Regions from separate parts of the Homo sapiens genome. Here region 2 is linked to region 1. The links are contacts of gene promoters, found by promoter capture Hi-C in human tissues and cell types (Jung and others, 2019). All regions are on one chromosome and are shown on one strand. Each heading gives the region's core, a stretch centred on a gene start or on the middle of the fragment in contact. The rest is flanking DNA. Distances are from core to core; before and after follow the strand shown. Region 1 holds the start of PLG (plasminogen). Region 2 has its middle 64 kb from the start of PLG.

Evidence for each region. Contacts are between HindIII fragments. The study calls those that stand out against the background at their distance.
Region 2: a contact is called between a fragment that was not itself captured here and the fragment with the promoter of PLG in region 1, in 1 of the 25 tissues and cell types used here (liver).

The regions. Positions count from the first base shown.
Region 1 is chr6:160,699,171-160,705,416 of GRCh38, reverse strand. It overlaps PLG (plasminogen), which reads right to left and starts at 3,173. Exons shown (of 19, transcript NM_000301.5): 1 at 3,064-3,173. The coding sequence starts at 3,112. The HindIII fragment of the contact is 7,159 bases long and covers 1-5,857 here.
Region 2 is chr6:160,763,591-160,769,836 of GRCh38, reverse strand. No RefSeq gene overlaps it. Among named protein-coding and RNA genes, the nearest start is that of PLG, 64 kb to the right of the region's middle. RefSeq lists silencers at 2,494-2,623, 2,684-2,793. The HindIII fragment of the contact is 3,667 bases long and covers 1,940-5,606 here.

The DNA of each region.
Region 1 (6,246 bases), core at 1,924-4,423:
GTCTTGGTTTTTCTTTGAGATCAAATCTGAGACAACGAATCTGTCCGAAAGCTGCTTTCTGCCTGGTCGTGGCAGAGGGTGGCCAAGGGGGCCTCAGCTGTGCTCCCACCACAAGGCTACAGGGTGTCCCCTTGTCCTGAGGCTCTTCCAGACATCTGGCTGAGCTTTGGTAGCTCTATTCCAAGCCTGGAGATGCCAGCTCCGTCCTTGGCACAGAATGCTAGTGATTTGCACAAGGGTGAGAGGCCAAAAGAGGCTAATAAAATGAAGACAGGCAAGCTCCATGGAATTAGACAACAGGACAACCTTGACCACTTTGAGGGGCGTGGTGGGGGCCGCAGGCAGAGGGGGTGGGTTACAGAGTGACTAGGAGAGCAGTGGAGGCTGCAGCAGGAGACAAGCCTGGCTCTGAAGACAGCGAGCCCTCCAGGGAACATGCGGTCAGGGGAGGTTCTGAAAGATGACACACTGCAGAGCGCATTGGTTTGTATGCTGATGACAAGTATCCAGTAGGAAAGCAAATGAACAGATTTTCATTCTCAGAAAGGCCTGTCCTGACCTCCTGAGGGTACACAGAGCACAAGGGGCAGGACAGGGAGGTGGATGCATGCTCATCGATTCATGCAAAGTCCTCGGCCAAAGTCCCCCTGCTCCCCACCTCTGGGACTTTGTCCTTCCTCAATTTAAGACATTCCGGGCTGGAAAAATGGATTATTGAGCAGGAGTTGGCTGATGCATTCTAAAGCTAATCCACTAAAAAGCACTTGAGAGATATATCAAAAGATCACAAAGAAATAGATGCTTTAGGCCCATATCCATGTCTTTACCCCGCACTTTCTGCCAACTTGAACTCTCATTTTCAAGAAGAGTTGTGTTTTGGTTAATTCTATATAGCTCACAGTGTGACTTCAAAACACACAATAAATCCACAAAGTGTGTCCTACAGTGAGTTCAGTTAAACTTTCTGAAGAGTTTTTTTGAAGTATAGCAGAGCAGGCTACAACTGATATTCAAAAAAAGAAAACTTCCATTTATTTCCCCCTTCAATTAAGTTCTCTGTGTTATGTTACTATGCTTCATAGCGCATCGCTGCTGAGATCCCCTCCCCAGCTCATGTCCCTAGGAAATATCCCAAAACAGAATCAAACTTTTCTCTTTTCAGTTTGAAATAATTTTCCCCCATTTTTTCTTCTCTTATTCACCTCTAGGACTCATATGGCAATAGGATTTGATAGGGCTTATTTGCTGGCAAGGAAACATCAAACAAATCTTTTAGTGGAAAAATACATTTATATTATAGGCAAAATGCAGATGTATATTGCTACTGATGCAAATGTATTTTATTAATGGTGTGAGAATTTCTTCCTCACTGTGGTGTGTGAATGTGTATGCATATTTGCATGTGTAAAAGACTTAATTTGTGAAATGGAAGATGTTTCTCCACTTCCCACTAAGCATGGCTGTAAAAGAAACTTTTCCCTCTCCCCGGGCATTGCAGCACACTGGAAAGATGATACATCCACAGAAAACCTGGCTTTCCAAAAGAGCTTATGAGAGAATGTGCCCACCAGGTGGGTTAAAACATATGTTAATCCTGTGGCAGAGAAGTTTGATCTAGCCTTTGGGTGTAGCCCACTGAATAAGTTCATAGTGATCTATGTCCTAGTTTCCATGCATTGAAATATAATATTCATACCCCCCAACATACACCAATTTCTTACAAAAATTTCTTTAATTTTCTCCTGCTCTGTATTTTCTTTGATAGCTCCTTGAATGGCTTCCACTAAATTCAAATGTATTTGACTCTAAAGTGCAACTTGTAAAATTTTATCTGGTAATTTATAGATTGAATTTCAAGCGTACATTATTTACATGAAGAACTACTAGCAAATCGTATGATTCCGTTTGTATGAAATGTTCAAAATGGCAAAGATATAAATACAGAAAGTAGATTAGTGGTTGCCAGAAGCTGCAGATTGGGGGTAACAGCTAAGGAGAGTGGAGTGCGTTTTTGGGGGTATGAATAGTTTTAAAATTTATTCTGATGGTGGCTGCACAACTCTCAATATCTTGAAATCCATTGGATTGTATGCCTAAATGGGTGAATTCTATATGTTAATTATATCTCAATAAAGCTTTTTTTTTTTTAAAGAAAAAGAAGTACTAGGACATGTTTAGAATATTCTTTCAAAGGCTTAAACAAAGCTGAAAAGTGAGAAGAGCCCTAGATTCCTTCTGGGAAACCTGGCTTAAATCCAGTTTTCTTTATTTCCCAGATCTGAGAATTTGGTCACTGAGCAAATAACATGATATTCCTAAGTCTGATTTCTTTGTTTATAAAATGAGGATGAATATGCTACCCTACCTATACCACGAGCTAAATAAGCTAGTATTTGTAAAGGATACACACTCACACTCACATTCACACACAGGTATGTATGTATGTGTAAAAATGTAGGGACCTAACCCAAGCAACTGAGTATTTGTTGATCACTATCTGCACACAGCATCTGGCAAATGGATGCGTGTGATTTTTCCGGGGATAAGAGGCAAACGTATACTGATGGAAAGCCTTCCTCAGGCCATAACAAAGGGAGAAATGCTGAGTCCCCGACCCTGCCGCCACCATGAACTGGTGAGAGAACGGAATATATTCAAAGAGATATTTCACTGTTTTAACTTGCAAGTGAGGGGAGCATGACACCGTAACAGAGATGATATAAATTAGTCAAACTGAGAACCAGGCAAAGAGCTTAGCCGTCCTTTGCATAATTAGCTACATTGGCTCTTTTTCAATTAGACTGGCCATTATGTGGGTGCACTCATTTAGATTTGAAAAATCACCCATTATTTTCTCTGCCCATTCATTCCAGCACCCTGACAATCTTCACAGGAAACTTAAACTTATTTCTTGAAGAATTCCTCAATCTTATACAAGATTTTCAACTGGAAGTTTCATGAATCAAAAATTAAATGAATTGCACATAAAGCCATGGCATATGTATTTTTACTACATTGTGGGAGAAAAAATAATTCTTATAATTTAAAAAAACTATGTCTTACCTGATTTCAGAAATAAAAGAAGTAGAAGAACCACTTCCTTATGTTCCATTTTGGGACTGGCCAGCAGTGCCCAGAAAGTGGGTCCCAATCCCAGGATGTTGTTGACTTACATGAGAGTAAACGCATCCACAAACCAGATAGTCAAATTAAGTTAATGATTCTCTCAGAGACCCATGCCACTGGCTCAGCAGGGTTCAAACATTACCTTGAATAAAGAGTCCTTACAACATGTTTGAGGGTGGAATCTGCAATAGATGCTGGGAAGTGGTGAAAGCAATCTCCCCCCTCGGCTGCTCCACGCTGCCGTCATGTCTCCTTATTCCTTCCCTCACCCTTGTACTTTATCTCTCGCAATTAGTCTTATTTCCTCCCCTCTTCTCTTATTCCCTTTCTTTTGGAGAAAATGAAATCATAAAAGTATCTCACATTTGCTGGAACCTTCCATGACGAGACCCTCTGCCAAGCGCTGCACGTCCATAGCCTCCCTCAAGCTTCCCAACAGGCAGGGCTGTTCTCATTCCTGCTGTACGAGGGATGGGGCTGAGGCCTTCCCCAAGGTTGTGTCTCTACCCAGGGGTGCAGCTGATAGACAAAACCCCTTCAGGTCTTAGATGACAAACTTAAGTTAGGTGTAAACGTTAATATCTCTACATCCTACACCAAATGACATAGAAATTACGACATAAGTGAAAGTATCTTATTATCTTCAAAATTTATTTATTCCCAGTGAACTCACATGTTTTCTGTAATTATAAATTATGTTATAAGACATCAATCTTTCCCCCAAATGAACGTATGCCATATTATTATATTCTCATTCTCATGAAATAAAGCAAGACTGGTAGCATTAAGTGGAAAGCGTCTATCTCAATTTTAAATGTTGAATCTGTACTTTTCCCTGGCTTAAGTCTAGAGCAACCAGGTAGTATATATGCTGTAAAACTTCTATTTTAGTGTTCAAAGATATTTAGGAATAAATCAATTGACCTCTCTATTTTAGATGTGAAATAAGGACCAGAAAGCATTGTTCCTCTTTCCAGGCAGTGAAATTCCTGCCTATTCATTAACTGGCAAAAGAGTAGAGGTGGGAGCCCAATGGTCTTGGGTGGAATGTCCTGCGGAATTCCCTGGGATTGAGGAACCATGCAGAACCCTCAAGAAGAAGCCACACTGGGCAACAAGAGGGTGGCCCCATGTGAGGGACAGGGGGACCGAATCGCTTTTCCTGATTTCCTATTTTAGCCTCACTCTCTTCTCTCCTCAAATTCTTACCACTCCCTTTATCCTCTCTGACTCACCTCATGGCCCAGTTCATTAAAGGGGACAGAAGGTGGAGGCAGATTGAGAAACCAGCAGTGGGCAGACATTTTATTTTTAATGTGAAATGTCTCTTAGGGGGCTCATGTTGATGTGCTTGAGAAAGTACTCTGGGAAAAAAAAATACTCTACTAATATATAATGCTTCCAGCATGTATTTATTTCCACTTAAAATATTATTGTAGCAGTTCCTCTTGGATAAGGCACCTTGGGAATGATGTTATCAGAAATTCTACATCCACATAATTTTCTTTTCCTGTTGTTTTGGTTTTGACTTGGGTGGTGTTGGTATAGCTTTTGCCCACCTTTCCCCTGGTAGTTGTTGGATGCATTAAATTCTACAAATGTGATTTTATAAATTAGTTGCCCTCCTAATGGCCTCCTGGCTGTACATTCTTCCCTACCTTCATAATCCATCAGCATCGTGAAAGCACAGAGGGACGTTGAGCAGAGCTCTGTGCTGGCGCCACCGCACTCTGTAGCCTGTAAGAGAGCAGCAAAGAGGAATGTGTTGCTCAGGTATAGACGGGGGTGGGTGCATAGAGACTTCCGCTGCGGCATGGCCCTTCATGTCCAGGGTAGGCATGAAGCAATGGACTATTCCAGGTTGTGCATAGGAAACCACACAGCACTCTTGGAGGGATTTTTGCTCTAAAGACAACTAATTCAAAATAAGGCGCTTTCTACCTGAAAGAACAGCATGAACTAAGAAAAGAGATATATAGAGAGATCTCTGTGTACTATGATCAGGTTGCACATATTCTGGGATTTATGTATTCTTATTAGTTCAATTCCTTATTTATTGACCACTTACTGTTTACAATATTGTATTAGATTCTTTTAGGATTACAGTTGACCCTTGATCAATTTCAGGGGTTGGCACACTGACCATACACAGTAGAAAATCCAGGTATAACTCTGACTCTCAAAAACTTAACTACTAACAGCCTGCTGTTGACCAGCAACAGTTAATAACATGTATTTTGTATGTTATATGTATGATATACTGTATTCTTACAATAAAGTAAGCTAGAGAAAAGGAAATGTTCGTAAGGAGAAAATACATCTGTGGTACTGTTATGTATTTTTCCATACAGTAAGTTTACACCACCTGTTTACAAGATGAATCATCTGTCTGAAATGGAAGCAACCCCAGCTACAGACCTCAGTCTCTGTTACATATCAAGCAAATCCAGTTTTTCTTGTAATGTCAAATGTCATGACTTTTCTCTGCTTCTTGGGAGCACTTCCAGCATCACTAGTGCCACTTCATATTGGATCCCATGGTGTTATTCAAGGTTTACAGTACAGCACGAAACAGGACGAAAAATACATGCGAACAGGGAGAGAGCACTTTTTACTGTGATGCGCAATTCACTGGGGATGAACTGCTCATGATGGAATGTTGAGTATCACAGAACGTTTTAAGTGGATACTCGCAACACCTTTGCTCATTGCAACAGCAACAGGAGGAGGATATGAAATTATTACCATAGTGTGGTATGCACTACGGTTAAATTTATGCAGTTACAATTTAATACTGCATCTTGATGTTTGTATACACTTCTCTCAACTGAGAATAGCACCATATACGATCTGTGAGTGTGTACACAATTTTTACTAAATTTTAACTTTTGCAATAGTTTTGTTATATTTTATGGTAGTAAAGAATAAAATAGACTAGGTATCTACATATATTTTATGCATTCATGACATACTTAACTTTTTCTATTTTTGTTGATATTTCTAGCTGGATGGTTTGTCTTTGAGTTTTTTCAAATTGTTGCAAAACTCCAAAACATTTTCTAACACATTTATTGAAAAAAATCTGTGTGTAACAGTTCAGACGTGTGTTGTTCAATGATC
Region 2 (6,246 bases), core at 2,524-5,023, 64 kb before region 1:
ACTGCTATCTAGCTGTAATTTTGTAGACTTTAACCAAGCTCTCCCTATTTCCCCTTTTCCCACCCTTCCAGGCCTCTACTGTCCTCCGTTCTACTTTTTACTTCTTTGAGATAAACTTTTTTAGCTGCCACATATTGTTACCGGCGGCAAATCCGTATGGGTCTGCAGCAACCTCAATTCTTACTTCCTCAGAAGAATGAATTTGACTGAGGGGCATGAGGCAGAAGGAAAGATTGAGGCAAGTTTTTAGAGCAGGAGTGAAAGTTTATTAAAAAGCTTTAGAGCAGGAATGAAAGGAAGGAAAGCACACTTGGAATAGGGCCAAGCGGGTGACTTGAAAAGCAAGTGTGCGCCTTGACCTTTGGACTTGGGGGTTTTATACATTGGTATGCTTCCGAGGTCTTGGGTCCCTTCTCCCCACTCGCCCAATTCCTGAGATCTTATCGGGAAGCTGCTGATGATAGGTGTTTTCTATCTCTTGGGAAACTGCTTTTCTCTGGTGCCAGCTGTGACCAATTATTACTTTAGACAGACAGTTAATAACCACCCTGACCATCACCTAATGGTTGGCAACACTCCTGGTGTGTGTTTGGGGCAGTGGTAGGGGGAAGCCCTCTTCTGCCCTGCTAATACCTTAATAGCCACCTATGGCAACATTATGAGTGAGAATCACGCAGTGTTTACCTTTCTGTTCTTGGCTTACTTAACATACTGTCCTCTAGTTTCATCCATGTTGCTGCAAACGATAGGATTCCATTATTTTTTATGGCTGAATAGTATTCCATGGTATGTATATACCTTATTTTCTTTATCCATTCATGTGTAGTCACACAACTAGGTTGATTCTTTATCTTGGCTATTGTGAACAGAGCTGCAATAAACCTGGGGCTGCAGACTCTTTGATACAATGATTTCCATTCTGTTGGATAAATGCCCAGTAGTGAGATTGCTGGATCATAAGGTACTTCTATTTGTAGTTTTTTGAGGAACCTCCATAGTGTTCTCCAGAATTACTGTAGTAGTTTAAATTCCCACCAACTGTGTAGAAAAATTCCCTTTTTTTCTGCGTCCTCACCAGCATGTGTTATTTTTTGTCTTTTTGACAATAGTCATCCTACTGGGGTGAGACAATGGCTCATTGTGGTTTAGATTTGCATTTCCCTGAGGATTAGTGGTGTTGAGCACATTTTCATACACTTGTTGCAGATTTGTAATGTCTTCTTTTAATAATTCAGATCATTTGCCCATATTTTAATTGGGTTGGTTTTTTGCTCTGGAGATGTTTGAGTTCCTTGTATATTCTGGATACTAGTCCCCTGTCCCCTGAGTAGTTTACACAATACTAGGCACCACACTAGGTTCTTTACACAGGTTATTTCATTTATTCCTCACTCTGACCCTATGAGGGAGGTGCTATTACTACCACTCTCATCTTACTAATAGAGAGTTCCGCAGAGGTTCATAGCTTCCCCAGAGTCACACCGCTTGTGTGTCAGATGGAGCAGGGTTGGATGCCAGAGCCAGGCCCTCCAGCCCCACGCCTCGTTGCTGCCGGAGCCTGCCGGTCTGCAGTTACTGCCACAGGCATCAATGGCAATAACCAGAATAAGCATTTATCGAGCACCTACTGTATTCACAGAACTCTGATCAGTGAAGCAAACAAAGCCAAGGAAGGTAGAAATCGCAGAGTCCAAACCAGAGTCTAGGGCCTGAAGTGCACTGCATGGGCCAGGTTAAAGTAAATGAAACATTCCTATTTTGATCCCTTTCATTATTTATCGTTCATACCCATAAATACTTTTAAGGGGATCAGTTTAGATGCAAAGTCAACAACAAATAGGCAACGAATCTGTTCTTCCAACATTTTTTTTCTCCTGAAAAGACTCTCTGAAAGCCCTGTTTTAAAGAGACTTGCTCCTTTTGCACGATGGGTAAATCGCAGGACCTGGTAGATTATGCTACATAATGTGGAAAGGTTGCTTCGTCCAAGAGCCTGGAGTTTTCAGAGACTTTGTCCTGAAACTACCCTCCTTGGGCAATACCAGCGCCTGCAGGCAACAGCTCTCATGTACTTAAGATTTAAATACAACCCACAGAAGTGCTGGCTTGTCTGGGAAAACCTTTTACTAAAGAGAAGAGCAACATTTTTTTTTCTTTTCTGGAATTTGTAAACAGCATTTATTCTCAGCCTTGCCTTTGAAATGTTCCACCTGGAACACTGCTGGGCAGCGTGGAAACAGAAGCGAACGTCAGCCAAGCCGGCAGGGGGCGGCAGACCCCACACTTCGCCGGGCGCCCTCGCCTCCCTGGGAGTGAGCGTGCAGCTGCCAAAACCTGTCGCTGGTTTCAGGTCCAAGCGCCTTCAGCCAGCAGATGGTTCATGTCCTTCGAGGCGGCAAAATATGGGGTGGAAGGAGTGGGGGGTGAGGCTGAGAATGGGGAGAGCAATCCAGGGTCGCCAGGGTGGGAGCCGCAGCTGGCCCGTGGCCGCCCGGAGGATACTGATGCTTCTGGAGTGCGCGAGGGGCCCCGCAGGACCGGGGCCCGCAAAGGCGCGGGCACTGGGCGGGGACGCGGGCGCGGCGTGGTGCCGGGGCGGGAGGCGGAGGGGTGGACGAGGGGTGGACGAGGCTCGGGTGGGCTGACCCCTTCCCGCAGGGCCAGGATGGCCAGGGCGAGGCCGCCGGGAAAGGCAGGACCCTCGCCCCTACGCCGCCAGCTGGGCTTTTCTCCTTCTCGCCAGCTCCGTGTTCCAGGGCGCGATCTCGCTCCGTCCACCCGCCGGCTCTGGGGCTGAGCCTCAGGTAGGTGGGTCGGAGGTCCTGTGAGAAGTGAGGGTTGAAGGCGTTTCTGCTTCCAAGCGCAAGCACGGGGAGCCCGGATGCTCCAGCCCCTGGACCCTGGATTAGAAACTGGCAAGGGTAGATGTTTTGCAGGAGGTTGCCCTCTGCCTTCCTCTGTTCTAACACCTGCTGGATTCAGGGAGTCCTAGTACCTGTATTTCTGACCCGAAAAACAGAACAGCAGAACATCCAATGTGATGGGTTAGGCCTCCTTAACGTGCCTCGTTTGACTTTGTAACCTTCCTTCCACAGACTGATCTTTTTCGTGCAATTGATGTGATCCTGTGTCAGCTATACAAAACAATTTTTGTTTACTGAATCTGGTTTAAAAGGCAAGAAGTTGCTTCCCATAGGGCACATTGATCCCTGGTGGAAAGGGATGTGTATGCCCTGAAACATGGAGAGTCATATGCGCTGCTTGGTTTTGTGTAGATTAAAGTAACATGAGATGATGTTTTCACTGATTTTCAGAATTATGGAGAATTCACTTAGGAAAATATATGTTTCAATGCATGACCAATATGGGTATTTACTTTAACTGATTTCACAGAAGCAGTGCTCCTGTTTTGAGACACACAGATTTTATTTGGTGCCTCTTTATGGTATGATCAATTAGCTGCTTACTTCATAAGTTATGTGGAGTGGGGAAGGTACTTCCTGTTTTCTCTTTAAATGTCTTTTCTCTGATTTGAAGAAGTAATAAAGGAGAAATCTTTTTGCAGTGTTTAACTTTTATCCTCCACTATTCTGAAGTTCAAGCTTCAATAATTAATATAAATACAGTAAAATTAATACTTTAAAGGTAGCTGATATGCTTAATAACCAGAAAATATTTCAATTAAAAAAATTCCATTCCATCTAGTGTTTTGACCCATATGATACATATGCATACATGTGTAAAAGTGTATATATATTCATACGTATATGAAAAAGATACTATGCACTATACTGAGTTTATACTTTTATTGTGCATCACTAAGACCGTTTTTGACTTTAAAAAGTAGATTATGTAGACCTGCGAAACAAGCAACAAAAATGAAAACACTGCACTTTTTTGTGGTTCTCTAAACACACAAGAATAGTGGAGGTCAGGATCCATGCTGTTGGCCAGGCATTAAGTTGGCGTTATCAGCAATCACTGTAGTGCCAATGAATGTGAATTCCCCACATGTCGTGCCTTGGGAATTGCTCCTTTGACTAGATTACTGGCTTGAGGTTGTCGCTGTTGTCTTTCCTACAAGAGTAGAAAACAAGCGCACAAAATTGGATTTAGGTAAATGGAAATTTAATGCAGTCACAGCAGTGCCCCACACAAAGAAGGCAATCAACAAATGCAGCCTTGATAAGGGTCCCTCCCTAGGCCAGTCGTCACCTACTCCCTCTGTTGGATGACAGCCCTCCGGTATCTGCACTCAGTTCCCACGTTCCCGAAGCTTCTCTTCTCAGACTACGCAGCGCCCAGAGCTTCAGGTCTCTCCATATCCTTCATCAACACTTCCTGAAAGTGTGAGACCTTGGAGAAGCCCATGTCCTCCAGATGTGGCCAGGAGAGCTGAGACAGAGCCCTGGGGTCCTTTCTTATCAACCCTTGGTTGGGGTGTCCTAGTTCTGTAAATTCTACAAATAGCCATTTTTAAAAATACCATTCATTTTACACCAGTAGCTCAGCTGTCCTGGGTGAGCTCCACACCCTCAACTCTGTAGCTGATTACATAGTTCATTATTACATTACCCAGTCTCAGGTATTACAGCAATGTGAGAACGACTAACACACCTATGGACTTCCCACCTGGGAATATTAGGATTTAACTCCTTTTAATGCACCATCAACATCAAAACACACACCACACACATGCCACATATACACACATCCCATATATACACTATGCACACACACACCACATACACCACAGACACGATGCACAACACACAGACACAGCATACGCACCACATACCACGTACACACCACACTGTACACAACACACATACACACCATAAACGCCAGACACACTGCACACACCTCACACCATACACACACCATACACATACCACACACACACCACAAACATCATACATACTACATACACACACACATCCTTTTGCTATATGTACCTAACATAATTATGTAATTATATTGTAATTTTGGTTAAGTAAATATTCAGTGTTCATATTTCTTCATGACTATGAAAATGCTATTTATAACTGAGGCATGTAGTATACTCTTATATTTCTCCCTAGAATTCGTTGTTTTCTTTTCTGTAAGATTTTATGTCATTTTTCTAATTCTACTCCAAATTCTCAGTTTTATAAACCTTTTCAATATGCCCCCAAACCCATTAGGCCATCTAGCAATGTTCTTAGAGAGAGCTTCTCAGGAGCCATCGTCCCTGCTCTGGCCTGGCCTGGCCTGGGTGCACGGCCGGCCTGCTGTCCATCTGTCGTGGGATCTCCATGGACTGTCATCCAGAAGATCCCCTTGCCTCTCTGATATTTGATCCCCCATTTGTTGAATCTCACATCTTCCTTTTTCAAAAAAATTACTTCCTCATTTTGCCAGAGCAAATCTCTGTATCTGATACTGAATGAAATCTAGTATCATCCTTAGAATACATGGAAGGTATTTTTTAATTGAGAAATTCCCATAAGAATATTAACCATCTTAAAGTGGACAATTAGTTTTATGTAGTACACGACAACCACCACCTCTATCCAGTTCCAAAACATTTTCATTACCTCAAAATACAATGCAGTACACAGTAAGCTATTACTTTCCATGACCCCATCCCAGCCCTTGCTTTCAAGGTTTAGCCATGCAGCATGTACCAGTGCTTCATTCCTTTTTGTGGCTGTATAAGCCACAATTTGTTTATCCCCTCGTCTATTGATTGATATTTGGGTTGTTTCCAGCTTGTGGCTTTTGTAATAGTGCTGCTATGAACCTTCTCATGCAAGGTATCTGGGTACTTGTTTTCAATTTTTTTGTCTATATACCTAAGAGTAGAAGTGTTAGATCATATGGTAATTCTATGTTTACCATTTTAAGGAACTGCCAAATTATTTTCCACTGTGGTTGAACCATTTTATATTCCCACCAGCAATGTACAGGATTCTAATTTCTTTACATCCTCACCACCACTTGTTATTCTCTATTTTTTAAATTATAGACATCCTAATGCATATGAAGTCTTATTTCATTATGACTTTATTGGCATTTTCTTAATGACTAATGATGTTAACCATCATTTCATGTACTTGTTGACTATTTATATATCTTTTTTGGAAAAATGTCTCTTTACATTCTTGTTTTTCTTTTTGTTGTTGAATTGTAAGTTTTTTTTTTTTTTCTCCCATTTCTCTTCTTGTTTGCCCAAAGAATACTGTGCTGGCAGTGAGCTGCACTGCT